2 separate regions of the Homo sapiens genome follow, and region 2 is linked to region 1. The links are contacts of gene promoters, found by promoter capture Hi-C in human tissues and cell types (Jung and others, 2019). All regions are on one chromosome and are shown on one strand. The core of a region is centred on a gene start or on the middle of the fragment in contact, and the rest is flanking DNA. Distances in the headings are between cores, read along the strand shown.

What was found. Contacts are between HindIII fragments. The study calls those that stand out against the background at their distance.
Region 2: a fragment that was not itself captured here is called in contact with the fragment with the promoter of RNF152 in region 1 in 2 of the 25 tissues and cell types used here (aorta and liver).

Annotation. Positions count from the first base shown.
Region 1 is chr18:61,889,743-61,896,509 of GRCh38, reverse strand. RNF152 (ring finger protein 152) reads left to right here and starts at 3,503. Exons shown (of 2, transcript NM_173557.3): 1 at 3,503-3,715. LOC105372159 (a long non-coding RNA gene) reads right to left here and starts at 1,957. Exons shown (of 3, transcript XR_935562.3): 1 at 1,790-1,957. RefSeq lists silencers at 1,948-2,097, 2,168-2,317. The HindIII fragment of the contact is 14,100 bases long and covers 1-6,767 here.
Region 2 is chr18:62,040,136-62,046,902 of GRCh38, reverse strand. PIGN (phosphatidylinositol glycan anchor biosynthesis class N) reads left to right here. Exons shown (of 31, transcript NM_176787.5): 31 at 924-5,739. The coding sequence ends at 1,047. Among named protein-coding and RNA genes, the nearest start is that of PIGN, 140 kb to the left of the region's middle. The HindIII fragment of the contact is 8,228 bases long and covers 1-6,767 here.

The DNA of each region.
Region 1 (6,767 bases), core at 2,254-4,753:
CTGCAATTCCAGCACTTTGGGAGGCTGAGGCAGGAAGATCACTTGAGGCCAGGATCAAGACCAAACCAGAGCAACAAAGAGAGACCCCTATCTCTACAAAAATAAAAAAATACAAAAATTAACTGGGCATGGTGGCACTCCTGAAGTCTCCCAGCTACTTGGGAGGCTGAGGCAGGGGGATGCTTGAGCCTGGGAGATTGAGGTTGTGGTGAGCCAGGATTTTGGCCACTACACTCCAGCCTGGGCAACACAGTGAGACCCTGTCTCAAAAAAAAAAAAAAAAAAAAAAAAATTCTCCTTCCTGCCCTGAAGTTGGGGCTTAAAATAAAGACTCTTGAAGTCTTCTACTTCAGGATTACCTTAGGCTTCTAAAACATGGATACAGCTTTTACTCTTTTCAGGTGTACGAAGGAGGTTTTAGCTTGGGTGAACAAAGGGATAAGGATCAGTCAGATGACCATAGGAGGCAACGTTTTAATTGGGATCCCAGGGACAACTGATACCCATGAAGCTTTATCTGTTTCTAGATGACCAGTTTTATGTATGTGCTTAAGGACAGCACTTTTGGAAACCCCATCAACAGGTCGTAATTGTGGGACATGACAAGAGTGCTCTCAGTACATTGTGAGTTTTATAGTAGGTTACCTAGAGTCCCCACTGGCTCACAGGGCTTCCTCTAAAAAAAAAAAAAAAAAAAAAAAAAAAAAAAAAAAAAGGCGCGGTGGCTCATGCCTGCAATCCCAGCACTTTGGGAGGCCGAGGCGGGCGGATCACCTGAGGTCAGGAGTTCGAGACCAGCCTGGCCAACATGGCGAAACCCCATCTCTACCAAAAATACAAAAATTAGCAGGACGTGGTGGTGCGGGCCTGTAATCCCAGCTACTTGGAAGGCTGAGGCAGGAGAATCGCTTGAACCCGGAAGTTGGAGGTTTCAGTGAGCTGAGATCGCGCCACTGCACTCCAGCCTGGGTGACAGAGCGAGAGTCCATCTTCAAAAAAAAAAAAACAGAAAAAGTAAAAAAAGAAATCTTGGCAGAAGCATTTCAATAAGCTACTTGGGGGAGTGAAAATGGGGACTCTTTCCTTGCGGATACTACGGACCTTAAGACAAAGACGGCTCCACTCCAGCAGTGGGGAAAGGCAGCAAGTGCCGCTGGAATCCGTGGGGATCACACTCAACTGAGCCCTGCTGCTGGGGACCGGGTAACGTCCGCAGGCTGAACTTCATCTCAAGAAGAGAGTTTTAGGTTTTCATGCTGCAGAGAAATCCTTTAAAAAGGCACCAAAGGGCATGGAACTATCTTCTACCAAGGACCTTTCTCCTCCATTCTCCTATTTCGCAGTTAACTCAAGAGGCGGGAGATTTTCTCCGGGGAACAAGACATTCTAAGCACCTCCCTAGGTCGAAGTTAGGTTTTAAGGTGTGGAATAGGGTGGGCCCCGAGGTTCCGTGGGGTTCGCGCTTCCATATAACCCCTAGGACTTGCATCTCTTTACTCCCCTGCTTCTTGTCCCCCATTCGAGGGATTCAAGTAGTGGGGTGTCCATTCGGGCCTCTTTGGAAAGCGGGGCCCCACCCTGGCTGGACTACGTGAACTTTTAGGGGCAGCCAAAAAGTATCCGGTGACGAGGATGCAGGGCAGCTTCTGGAAACCTGATGATCTCAGCTCCTCCCTCTCGCTGTCCGGGTCCTAGGCACAGACTGGGCACCCCCCAACCCACCCACCGCGGCCCCGGCCCCCTTCCCGGCCCTGCCCCTCCTCCCGGCTGCCCAGGCCTCCTTTCACACCTGCCGCCAGCTCAGGTCCCGCTTTTGCACGGTAGAGAGACGGCGTCGAGGTCCTGGCCGAGGGTAGGCACTGGGGGCAAAGCCGAGGGAGCGCGCGAGAGAGGGTAGGCAGCCCCTCACCCCGGGGGAGGTGGGCGATTCGGGACTGACGGAGAGAAGTCCCGGGCCCGCCGGGCTGTGGGCGGGGAGGAGGGGGTGGAGCCGCCGGGGAGGGCGGTGCCGCGGGGAGCGGAGCCCAGCCTCTCCCCCCACCCCCTTTGGTGCCGGAGTCTCAGTGACACAAAAAGCTCTCGCTCGGTGCCGAGCGCCTGGCGGCGGTGTCCGACCGCGAACGCGGAGGGCGGCCGGGCAGGTGGGGGTGCCGCCCGAAGGGCCGGGCCGGGTGCTGGGGCTGCAGGCGCCGCCGCCGCGCTGTCAGCGTCCGCCCCGTGGCTCTCGGCCGGAGGAGCGGCGGCCGCCGGCCCGGGGCGCGAGTCTGGCTGAAAGGAGCGGGCGCGCCGGGACCACCCGGCGATGCTGTCGCCGCCGCCGCCGCCTCTGTAGCGAGCACCCGAGCCCGCCGCGGAGAAAGGTCAGTGAGTTTCGGTTTGTTTCTCTGCTCTGCCGGCTCCGGATCGGGGGCGGACAGAGGGGTGCGCAGGGATGTCTGCGCCCCTACGGCGGCCGCGCCGAAGCCGTGGAAGCGGGAAAGGGCAGCTGCCGCCTGCTGTAACTGGGGAGATCTTCTGGACCGCGGAGGGGGTGGCGGGGCCGCAGGGTCCCGGGGAGGGGAGCGCGGGGTCTGGCGGGGCACGGGGGAGGTGGTCCCGGGAGTTGCGTGTCTCCTGAGAGCTGGCGGAGTTGGGCGGGCGGCCGCGGCGGGGAGCGGCGCTGTCGGCTGCTCGGCCGAGTCCTCGGATGCCCCCTGGAGCTCCGGTCCGAGGGAGCTTTCCTCGTGCCCGCGCCGCGCGCGCCCCTGGGTGTGCACGTGCGCGCGCGCCCGCCCCAGTTGCGCCCCCGGCCCGCACACACCCCGGCTCATCTTCTCCCGGTCCCCTTGTCTCGCGCCTTCTCCAGCCCTAGAAGTTGCCCCAGGGCCCCTCCCGGGATTAGAGAGCGCTGTGAAGGGCCAGATGTTGGGGGTCTTTTGTGCAGACACACGCGCCTGGGGCGCTTGCTCCTGGAAGGACAGCGGCAGGACAAAGCCAGCTGGACTCGTGGGGCGCTGCTCGGGAAGCGGCGGTCCCCAATCCCGCCTGGGGTCGGGGCATGGCTTGGGGAGCGCTGCCTGGGTCTGGAGAGAGTAGAGAAATCGCCAAAGCAGAGTGACGGTGACTTGATGAGGTGACGGTGACTTGATGAGGTGGCGGTGACTTGATGAGGTGGCGGACAGGGGCAAACGAAAGAAAGATGCTCGGGATTGCCGCGCTGTGTGCCTGTCTGCGCGGCTGACTAGGCGCCCCGCATTCCCATATGACCGGGTTACCTGGTAGATTTTGCCAGTGTGTCTTTGCCCCAAGATGTTATTCCCCACCTGCTCCGATTTCTTTCTTTCCTAGGGCTTACTGTTGCTAGTAGGCGCTCTGCCACCAGAGGGGAACTCGTGGGCGGGGGAGACTGCGGAGGAGGGGGGAGGTGGTTATTTATCCTGTAGAGACAATTAGGAGCCGTGACGCCCCCTTCTCGGCCGCCAGCCCTCCACACCTCATCTGCCTTGCTCCACCTCCCTAGTGCACCCGCTCCAGCCCCGTCTGCCCAGGAGGGCGCTTGGATTTCCTTCTCCGCGGCGCGTATCTAACCCTTCCTGCATGTATTTCACTGCAGGCTGAAGAAAGCTCAGTCTCAATTGTGTTTCCTGCCTGTCAGCCTCTTGCCTCCTAAACGTGTACCATTTCCACTTGATGTCATCACGCAGAAGGGGTGAAAGAGACTCGGTGACAGATACAGGTAACCCCCCACGATCTGGGTAGCGCCTGGGTGTCTCTGGGTCATTTGGGCCGACAGTGCTGGCACAGGGCTGTTTGGGTGGTTTCTGCATCAACATCGTTCCTATCTGTGAGAAGGTGTGGGGGCTGCTAAAACTCCTGGTTCAAAGAAATAAATTGCAAATGACTTTATACCTTCCCTTTGAAGAAGCCATTGGAGGTAGGTGCAGGGTGAATTTGGGATTGTAGAAATCCCACCTGGTTTCCTTTCATGGGAATTTTGATATAATTCATACACAGGCAGTTGTATCTGAATGTTAGGTTTCCATAGATGCCTGCTTTCTTATCTGTAGTAATAGATTTAGGCTTCAGTCTAGAGGTGGGGTATCCTTTGTTGAAAAGGTATCATTGGAAGGCTGATTGTACTTTTGCCCAGTGCTCTAATTGAGCACCGGTCAAATGCAGTGACCTTCGTATGAAATACTGTCTTTCTTCTGTTCCTTCATTGTAATAGTGTTTGCAATATTAAGAGAGACATGCTAGCAGTGAGTACTGGGAGGTGGAAGGGAGGGCTGTTGGGGGCAGCAGAAAGAGAACAGAGAAAACAGCTTGAGTGAAGTTTCCATTTAGATAGCCATGAACCAGTAGACTCTCATTCTGGATTTTATCTTTAGGTTATTGGGGCTTTTCCAAAAACTCTGGCCTGTTCTTTTCTTTCCAAGGATAGTTCTGTTTTGATGTCAGCCTAGCCAGATCTGGGGTTATCTTGATAAGAGTGCAATGAAAAAACGTAACCTTCAGACTTAGCAGGACACTCCGGCATTAGCATTTTCTGCTAGAGGGCAGAGTCCTGCGCATCCTACACTAGTAGCAGGGAATAAGAATGGTTATGGAAATGGGCTTTCGATTTTTCTTGTAGGAAGACAGATTGCTGAGGGCCAAAGGCTCCTGGTCTACTCTCTTTTACATTGCAGTAACACCTTGGTATCTGTGACAGATTCTCTCTTCACCATTTTCCTCCAAATCCCTTGAAAAATGAAGTTAAAAACTTGAAAGATTTATTATTCACCTCCAATGTAGTTTTGTTTTGGAAGGTGACTTTAAAAACATAGGTGACACTAGCATTTATCCTTCTACTACAAGCATTCAGGAGTCACTAGTAAAAGCAGTTGAGTTATCTAGTCCCAGGTGAAACAAAGGCCAGTGCTTTGCAAAGATCAGATGAGTAATGTGGTGCTAAGATAGAGGTATTTTTGACAAGTAATTTTTATGTCAGCAATAGTACAGGGTGTGTACTGTGTTGCTGCAAGAAGAAAAAACATGTGATGGGATAATAGGGAATGTAATAATGCAATAGAAACAAGGGTGTGGTTTTTTTTTTAATAGAAAGAATAAACACTTCGCACACAAAATTCCACATGGCAAAACAGTAGCCTGCCCATGTAAATGCACGTCCAAGAACAAAGATAGCCACAGTGCAGTGTTAGGTTTCATTGTGGTTTTAAATTGTGTACAGTAATAAATCATAATAAAGTGTCCATTGATGCTTAATTTTTTTTATATAAGAAGGAGGCTCCCCACCCTCAGATGTGTTTAGCTTTAGGCTGGAGGATCCCTAGAGGCTATTAGGCTGATCTCTGCCTCCAATGCCTGCTTCCTTTCTACAATGCTCATTTATTCATTTAGCAGATGTTTATTGGCACCTGATAGATAATGGACTCTGTGATAGATAATGGACTCAAGGGGTTGGGGTTGGGTGTAGGGGGAGACACAAAATTGAACTCCCTATAGGAAGACCTGATTCTAATTAACTTCAATGGAAGCTCAAGAGAGGTAGGATTGGACTTCTGGGGAGAGAAAATATGGTCATCCAGCCTCAACTTTAATGCCTCTTTCATTGAGGAGCTCACTGCTTCATAAATGGCTGTTGCTGTTGTCAGAAGGTGGCATTTTCATTGTAGTCTTTTTAGCTGAATTCCATACAGTTCGGTCCTTACATTGTTGAGGGTCATTCTGTTTTCATTTCTAATTCCCTCAGAGTTGTTTGAACCCACCTATGCTGTCAGCACCCTCTGCTTTTCAAGGTAGTGTTCAGTTCCTGATGAAGTTGAATTTTGAAACAAATGTTGCTTTTCCATATTATCTGATTTAGAAAACAGATTGATGGGATGCTTTTGCAGATTTTTCTCTTTTTTAAACAGTGACGTACCAGCAAGATAGGTGAGGTTATGCTGCAGTAACAAATACCTCCAAGTCTCCATAGCTAAATACAGTTTCTTTCCTTCCCATGCTGCATCCAGTGTGGTTGGCAGGTGGACCCTGCTCATCGTAGTCACTCAAGGACTCAAACTGATGGAGTCTTGGTCTTGATGTGAGCTTGCAAGATCATTGCAGCATCGGGAAGGAAATGCTGCAGGGTCTTGCTCTAGCAATTATGTGATCCTACCCAGAGGTGAGTTCCATCACTTTGGCCAGAACTGGGCATATGACCCTATTTAATCACAATTCAATATTTCTTGTGCTGAAAAAGGGAGAAGTGGATATGGGTGAGTAGCACTAGTGACTTCCACAGGGATCTGGTCTAGGTGAGGTTAGAAAGTGTGTCCTATGGGACCTAGCTCAGTGCTTGGTGGGTATTGGATGTCACAAGAGTATTGATTGAATCAACAACCTGTAATTTACAACCTGTATATTTACTATTCCAACCTGTAATTTACTAATATATGGTCCTACCCCCACCTGTAATGTACTACTAATATGTTGATATGGTATTTACTAACATGGTTGTACACTGGTCATCAAATAAAATAATTATAATCCTCTCTTTGCCTATTTCAAGTGCATGTTTACTCTGAAGTGAAAGGCCATTAGGTATTTTCAAGGCTGATTCTAGGAGGTTGTGAGCTTAGCATTATGTAATAGAGAGGTGTTACTTACAGACTTTCTCTTCCTCACCATCTGCCTCTTGTTTAAGGCTTCCTGAGTTTGTTTGGAACCGCCCAGGGTAGAAAAAGAGTGGCAATGGGCCTAGGGCCACCCAGGAGGTGGCCTCCTGCAGCAGAGACCACAGGGCA
Region 2 (6,767 bases), core at 1,847-4,346, 150 kb before region 1:
CCACCACCTGGAGTCGTCTTACGTTTGTTTATAGTGTCCAACATTTTTAGTTGTATAGTCAGCCCTCTGTATCCTTGGGTTCCACATCATGGATTCAGCCAGCTATAGGTTGAAAATATTTTTTTAATTGCATCTGTACTGAACATGTACAGACTTTCTATTCTTTCTATTATTCCCTAAACAATATAGTGTAACAATTATTTACATGGCATTTACATTTTATTAGGTATTGTAAATAATCTAGAGATGATCTAAAGAAGCAGTCCCCAACCTTTTTGGCATAAGGGAGTAGTTTCATGGAAGACAATTTTTCCACACGCCGCTGTGTATGTGGGGGTGAGGGATGGTTTCGGGATGAAACTGTTCCACCTCAGATCATCAGGCATTCGTTAGATTCTCATAAGAAGTGCACAACCTAGATCCCTTGCAAGCACAGTTCACGACAGGGTTCGTGCTCCTCTGAGAATCTAATGCTGCCGCTGATCTGACAGGAGGCGGAGCTCGGGCAGTAATGGTCACTGGTCCACCACTCACCTCCTGCTTTGCAGCCAGTTCCTAACAGGCCACAGACTGGTACCAGTCCACTGCCTGAGGTTTGGGGACCCCTGGTCTGAAGTATACAGGAGGATATACATAGCTTATATGCAAATACGGCACCATTTTATATCAGGGACTTGAGCATTCAAAGATTTGGGTATTCGTGGAAGGTCCTGGAACCAGTCCATGGACAGCTGTACTTGAAGGTCCTGGAACCAGATACCAACAGACAGCTGTACTTAGCAGGAGGAATAAGGTAAAGAACACCCACTCCAGCTCCTGAAAGTGGAGATTTTCATCTGTCCATTTAAAACCATTCAGAGGAATCTCATGATTTTCCTCACCTGTGTTCTCTCTGCCTGTAACATCTTTTTCTCCTTTTGCAGCATCAGCCACTATGTGATTGTCATGTCCATGACCATCTTTTTGGTGTTCCTCAATGGCCTGGCCCAGCTGCTCACAACGAAGAAACTCAGACTATGTGGCAAACCCAAAAGTCACTTCATGTGAGGTTGCTGAAGCACCATTCAGCATCTGGATCCTGATTCTCCTTTTAAGCTAAAATCTCATCAAGGCTTCAATAAGAAGATGGATATGGATATATAGTATATTCTACTCCTGTAAGGAAAATGGTATTTGGAATTCCGAATTGACAGGTTATCTGGAACAAAGGAGCTTCTTTTTTTTTCTAGGTTTTGCAGGCATGAAATAGTGATTATATCTGTGGAAAAGCATAGGAAGGCATTCTCCTTTTTCATTTTTTTCCTTTGGCTGGCAGCTCTTCCCAGTGATGTTGAGAGCACCTGCAGCAATCTGGTCCCCAGTCGCACAACTTCCCACATACCCAGAGGAGAGCATATGCCTGTGGGGGCAGTGCTGATGGCATCCAGAGTCATTGCTGTGGCTGAGCTGGAAGGAAATCACCAGGTGCCACCGTCAATATTTATCAGCTTTCAGCACTGGTTTTGTTAGACAGTCAGGGTGTATTATTTCAAGAGCTTCAATAAAAAAAGTGTTTGCAGGTATTTGTCATATTTCTTTAGTATGCAATAATGCTATCTTATCCTTTTTAGTGCTATTTCTCAGGTTTTCTCAGTCAACCAGCTAGATGCATGTGATGCATGTCTATCCTTCACTTTTTTTTTTTCATTTCTGGATTTTCCTGGGATTTCTGACAACACAAAAGTAGAAAGTGCTTGGTATTTCTGTCTTATACATAGGAAAACATTTAAAATAAATAGTTTTTAATTGTAGGCTCAACATCTGTTACCCCATAGCTTTTTCGTATATTGTTTCTTTCCCTTTGAATTTCTTTTTACTGTCATCTATTATTTTAACAGGAGTTAAAATAACTCCTGTTAAACTTTCTGACAATATCATAAGAATTCATATTAAAGGTGTTATTCTTTCTGGTTGTGAGATTCTAGCACAAAGGCCTAAAATCATCAAATTAGATTTCCATTTGTAAACAAATTCTAATGGGCAAAATATCTTGAGAGCAGTTTTTATATGGATTATCCATAAAATGACCTTTACATATCCCTGCAGAGTTGGCCTTTTGCCCGTGGTGTGCTAGTAGCTTTGGCTGATGCTAAGCTTTCCTGGTATGCGCCCTATTTTTAAGAAGTAATTGCTTTTGAATTAAGTTATAGCATTACTAATTCATGTTAATGACTAGGAAACCCTCTGTAATTTACAAGATTTTTCAAATTGGTGGGGAGTGAATAAATACAATTTAAAAGTCAGAAATCAGTTTGGCAAAGTGTACTTTCTTAATTTCTATTTATGATGAAGTATAGTCATAATTTATTTGTAATACTACTTTATGGTATACCAGTGAAAGAACTGTAGTATAAAAAAGAGGTATTAATGTTTTATGAAATCTCATGCATCAGTTCATAGCATAAAATCTAGCTGGACAACTAAGAAGCTATGGTAGCAAACAGTGATGTTGATGGAATGAGAATCATGAACTTTCATATTACCTCAAAGGATTTTTTTATCAGTTTTTTTCACACATCAGAAAAAACTGACTGTATAAACACTTATCACTGACCTTTTTCTATGTGTAGTTTTGCCTTTTATCTTTTCCCAAATTTTTATAAAGAGAAATTAATAAATATTTTATTACAACATTGTAAAGGGTGCTCAGTTTTTTTATCTTTCTTTATTTTGCTCTTTGAGGCATATCTTTTTCTTAATTTTGTCCTTTCAGGTCAGTGTGAGTCTGTAGAATAGGTTGAACTTCCTTCTGACAGTATCATAGAGTTTGTGGAGTTTGTGTTGTGTGCCTGCAGCCACAGGCTCGCCTTGCTGCACCGTAACTGGCCCCTTCAGACTCACATGGGAACAAGCCTTTTCTGTTGCAGTTTCCCAGATATCTTTAAATGTTTTGAAATGTATATTTTTATGTTGCAAAACAGAAAAAAGAAACGAGTTAGGGAAAAAGTATTTCTATTTAAGGTATTTATTTTTTCATTCTACCTATGCCATAGATTTCTGAATCAAGACTTAGGACATTTGCTGATTAACAATGTTTAAATTAGGAATTGTTATAAGAATTAAAATAGGCAGAACAAGTTGTGAAAATATTGAACCAAAAAAAGGCCATGCTATCATCTTAGAGGGCCCATGAATAAACCTTAGAGGGAATCCTAAGGCTTTAGGAAACCGCTGCAGCTTGTCTGTCATTTTCCAATATGTTAATTATTATACTTAGTGTACAGTATTTAGAATACAAAATGCTTTTTTATTTTTTAGGAAAATAATGTTATAAATGATTGTATATTTTCATAGTAATGTCTTTATAATTATTTATTAATGATAGAGCTGAATTAGAAAAGCTCTTCATCCATTATAATATGGTTTCTCATGAAAAACTTATTACAAATTTCAGCCAACTCAGATATTAAGAACATCAGTGTCAATCCTCCTCCCCTCCTGCGACCTTTTTACACTTGTTTTGGTGGACTAGGGGCTCCTTTTCTCCTCCTTTTTGACATATAACTGTGCCATTAAAAACATGATTTCTGATGAAGCTGGCCTAGAGGGAATGAAGGAGATTGCGTGGGTATGGTCTCTAGGACAGGCGTAGCTGTTGCAGGGCCACCCTGTCCTTGGGAGAACCTGGTGAGCTCCCATATTCACACTAGATGCCATCATGTCAGGGGGCTGAAGAGAATGGAGCTAATCAACTCTGTCATTTGGAGAAGACCCCCTTCAGACCAGTTCTGAGAACTCCTTCTTTTAAGAGACCAGAGATAACTTGATCATTTCTCACCTTTTCGTAGTTGTTCTTTTTTATGTTGACATTCCCCTTACTGTTTTTAAAATGCTTCAAAGCATTAATGATTGTTATGCTGTGTGCTTTCAGTACTATGGCAATATCTTTGTAGCATTTTCCCATTTCTGTATAAGCATGGTTTTTTGTTTTTTTTTTTTTCGTTTTTGTTTTGAGACAGGGTCTCACTCTTGTTCAGGCTAGAATGCAGTGGCACCATCTCAGCTCACTGCAACCTCTGCCTCCTGGGCTCAAGTGATCCTGCCACCTCAGCCTCCTGAGTAGCTGAGACTACAGGCACATGCCCCCACACCTAGCTAATTTTAAAATATTTTTTGATGGAGACAGGGTTTCACTATGTTTTCCAGGCAGCAGCATTTTTTTTTGACTGGGATTTCTTTATGATGCTTTGTTATTTAAAAAAAAAATGAGAAGGAAACATTAATAATCAAAATTATCTTTAATTGGCCTCACAGGGCTAAAATCTAGAATTATTATTACTCTTGGGTAAACTCATGAAAAGTACTTAATATTCATTCTATAAAGAAACAAAAAGAACCTTTGAGATGTGTCTCTTATTCATTTCCTTGGGTACACTTAAAACGGGTTACAGTTACTGCTCAACTTTCTACCTTCAGAACTGCAGCATTTATTTGCCACACAGCAGCATTTATCAGAGATTGTCCCTTAGAACATTGGTTCCTTGTAATACAAATAAATGTCATAATAAAAATAGTTTCTTTTTTCTTTCTTTCTTTTTTTTTCAAGACAGACTCTGGCTCTCTCGCCAAGGCTGGAATGCAGTGGCGCAATGTCAGCTCACTGCAAGCTCCGCCTCCCTGGTTCAAGCGATTCTTCTGCCTCAGCCTCCTGAGTAGCTGGGATTACAGGTGCCCACCACCACGTCTGGCTAATTTTCATATTTTTAGTACTGACAAGGTTTCACCATGTTTGTCAGGCTCATCTTGAACTCCTGACCTCAAGCAGTTCACCCGCCTCGGCCTCCCAAAGTGCTGGGATTACAGGCGTGAGCTGCCTCACCCAGCTGAAAAGAGTTTCTTAATTAAATATATTTGAGAAACATCTAGTCAAACCACCTTAAATAGGTATATTTACATTAGTTCTAAGGGAATTTAACTTGTGATGTACGTTGTGAAGGGAGGAAGATAGCATTATGCCAAAAGTTTCCACTAGCTTGACAGCAGACCCTGTCTTAGAGTTTTCTTCCTGATTGGTAAACATAAGAAATGTTTCCAAAGCCGGGCTTGGTGGCTCACCCCTGTAATTCCAGCACTTTGGGAGGCCGAGGTGGGTGGATCACTTGAGGTCAGGAGTTCGAGACCAGTCTGGCCAAGATGGCAAAACCCCATCTCTACTAAACACACACACACACACACACACACACACACACACACACACACACACACACACACACACACACACACCCGGCGGGGTGGTAGGCTCCTGTAATCCTTGCTACTCAGGAGCCTGAGGCATGAGAATTGCTTGAACCTGGGAGGTGGAATTTGCAATGAGCCGAGATGGTGCCACTCTGGGCGACAAAGTGAGACTCTGCCTCAAAAAGAAATGTCTCCATATAATTTTGCACTAAAACCTTAATTTGTCATAGTTTTGAAAATAGGGTGTTGTATGTTGATTGAATTTTTTTCCCTGAGAACTGGAATACCATTTTTACTTTAACCCTTAATGTGAGAAAACTTTACAATTTCCTGCAATTTTTCCTGCCTCTGTATATATTACACCTGTCATCATTTAGTCTTTCATGTGGGAAAGGCCAGTGGTACCAGATTGCATTCGGTTCATCATGGCTCATTGTCTAGCCCTGCTAGAGTATAGACTAAGCCTTCATACCTTATGTTTTATATCTTTTACCTGAAAAATAAATTTGCACCAAATTTCAACTTGTTTTCTTATGATTTGACAGTGTAGAAAGTGATTAGTAGTTAAATTTTTATAATGCTTTGTTATTTAAAAAAACTATGAAAAGAAAACATCAGTTATCAAAATTTCCTTTAATTGGCCTCAAAGGGCTAAAATCTAAAATTATTATTACTCTTGGGTAAACTCATGAAAAGATAAATTCTTTTTACAGAAGAATTTAATTAGCTTGACTGGTATCAAATACCAATTGCATCAAACATCAGTGATTCCATGAATTTTTTAAAGTTGTTTTTACTTTAAGCAGATAATGTTCAGTGAATTTGACTAATGTGATTAACGAAGGGACCAACACAGGTAATTGTCAATCTTACAGACATAAACTGTTACCTCGAATATCCCTGTATTACTTGAAATTCTAGAAATCGTCTGTCAACATTTTAAAAGCTCCTCTCCTTGCTGATGAGAAGTAATATTCTTAAAGTTAGAAACCATACAATTAAATCCTGATTTGCCTGATACATGTTTGCTTATCATGTCCTATCTCTCATGCTATTGTGATTGGTTTTATTTTATTAAAAACTGCTCATAGCATAGCCAGGTGATCTATGTGAACATCAACAGTGATAAGCTGACAGTATGTACCCTGGATACATGATGAGAATGGCACTTTAGCTACACGGACTTCCTCCCCAGTGCTCATAAACCCAGTCTAATCATGAGAAAAACAGACAAATATCAATATAGGAACATTTGGCAAAATACCCAGTGAGTACTTTTCAAAACTACCAAGGTCATCAAAAACGAGAAAAGGCTGAGAAACTGTCAAAGCCAAGAGAAGCCTGTAGAGACATGACCACTGCATGGGGTGCGGCACCCTGGATGGGCCCTAAACATGCGGTGCGGCACCCTGGATGGGGCCCTAAACATGGGGTGCGGCACCCTGGATGGGGCCCTAAACATGATGTGCGGCACCCTGGATGGGGCCCTAAACATGGGGTGCGGCACCCTGGAAGGGGCCCTAAACATGAGTTGCGGCACCCTGGCTGGG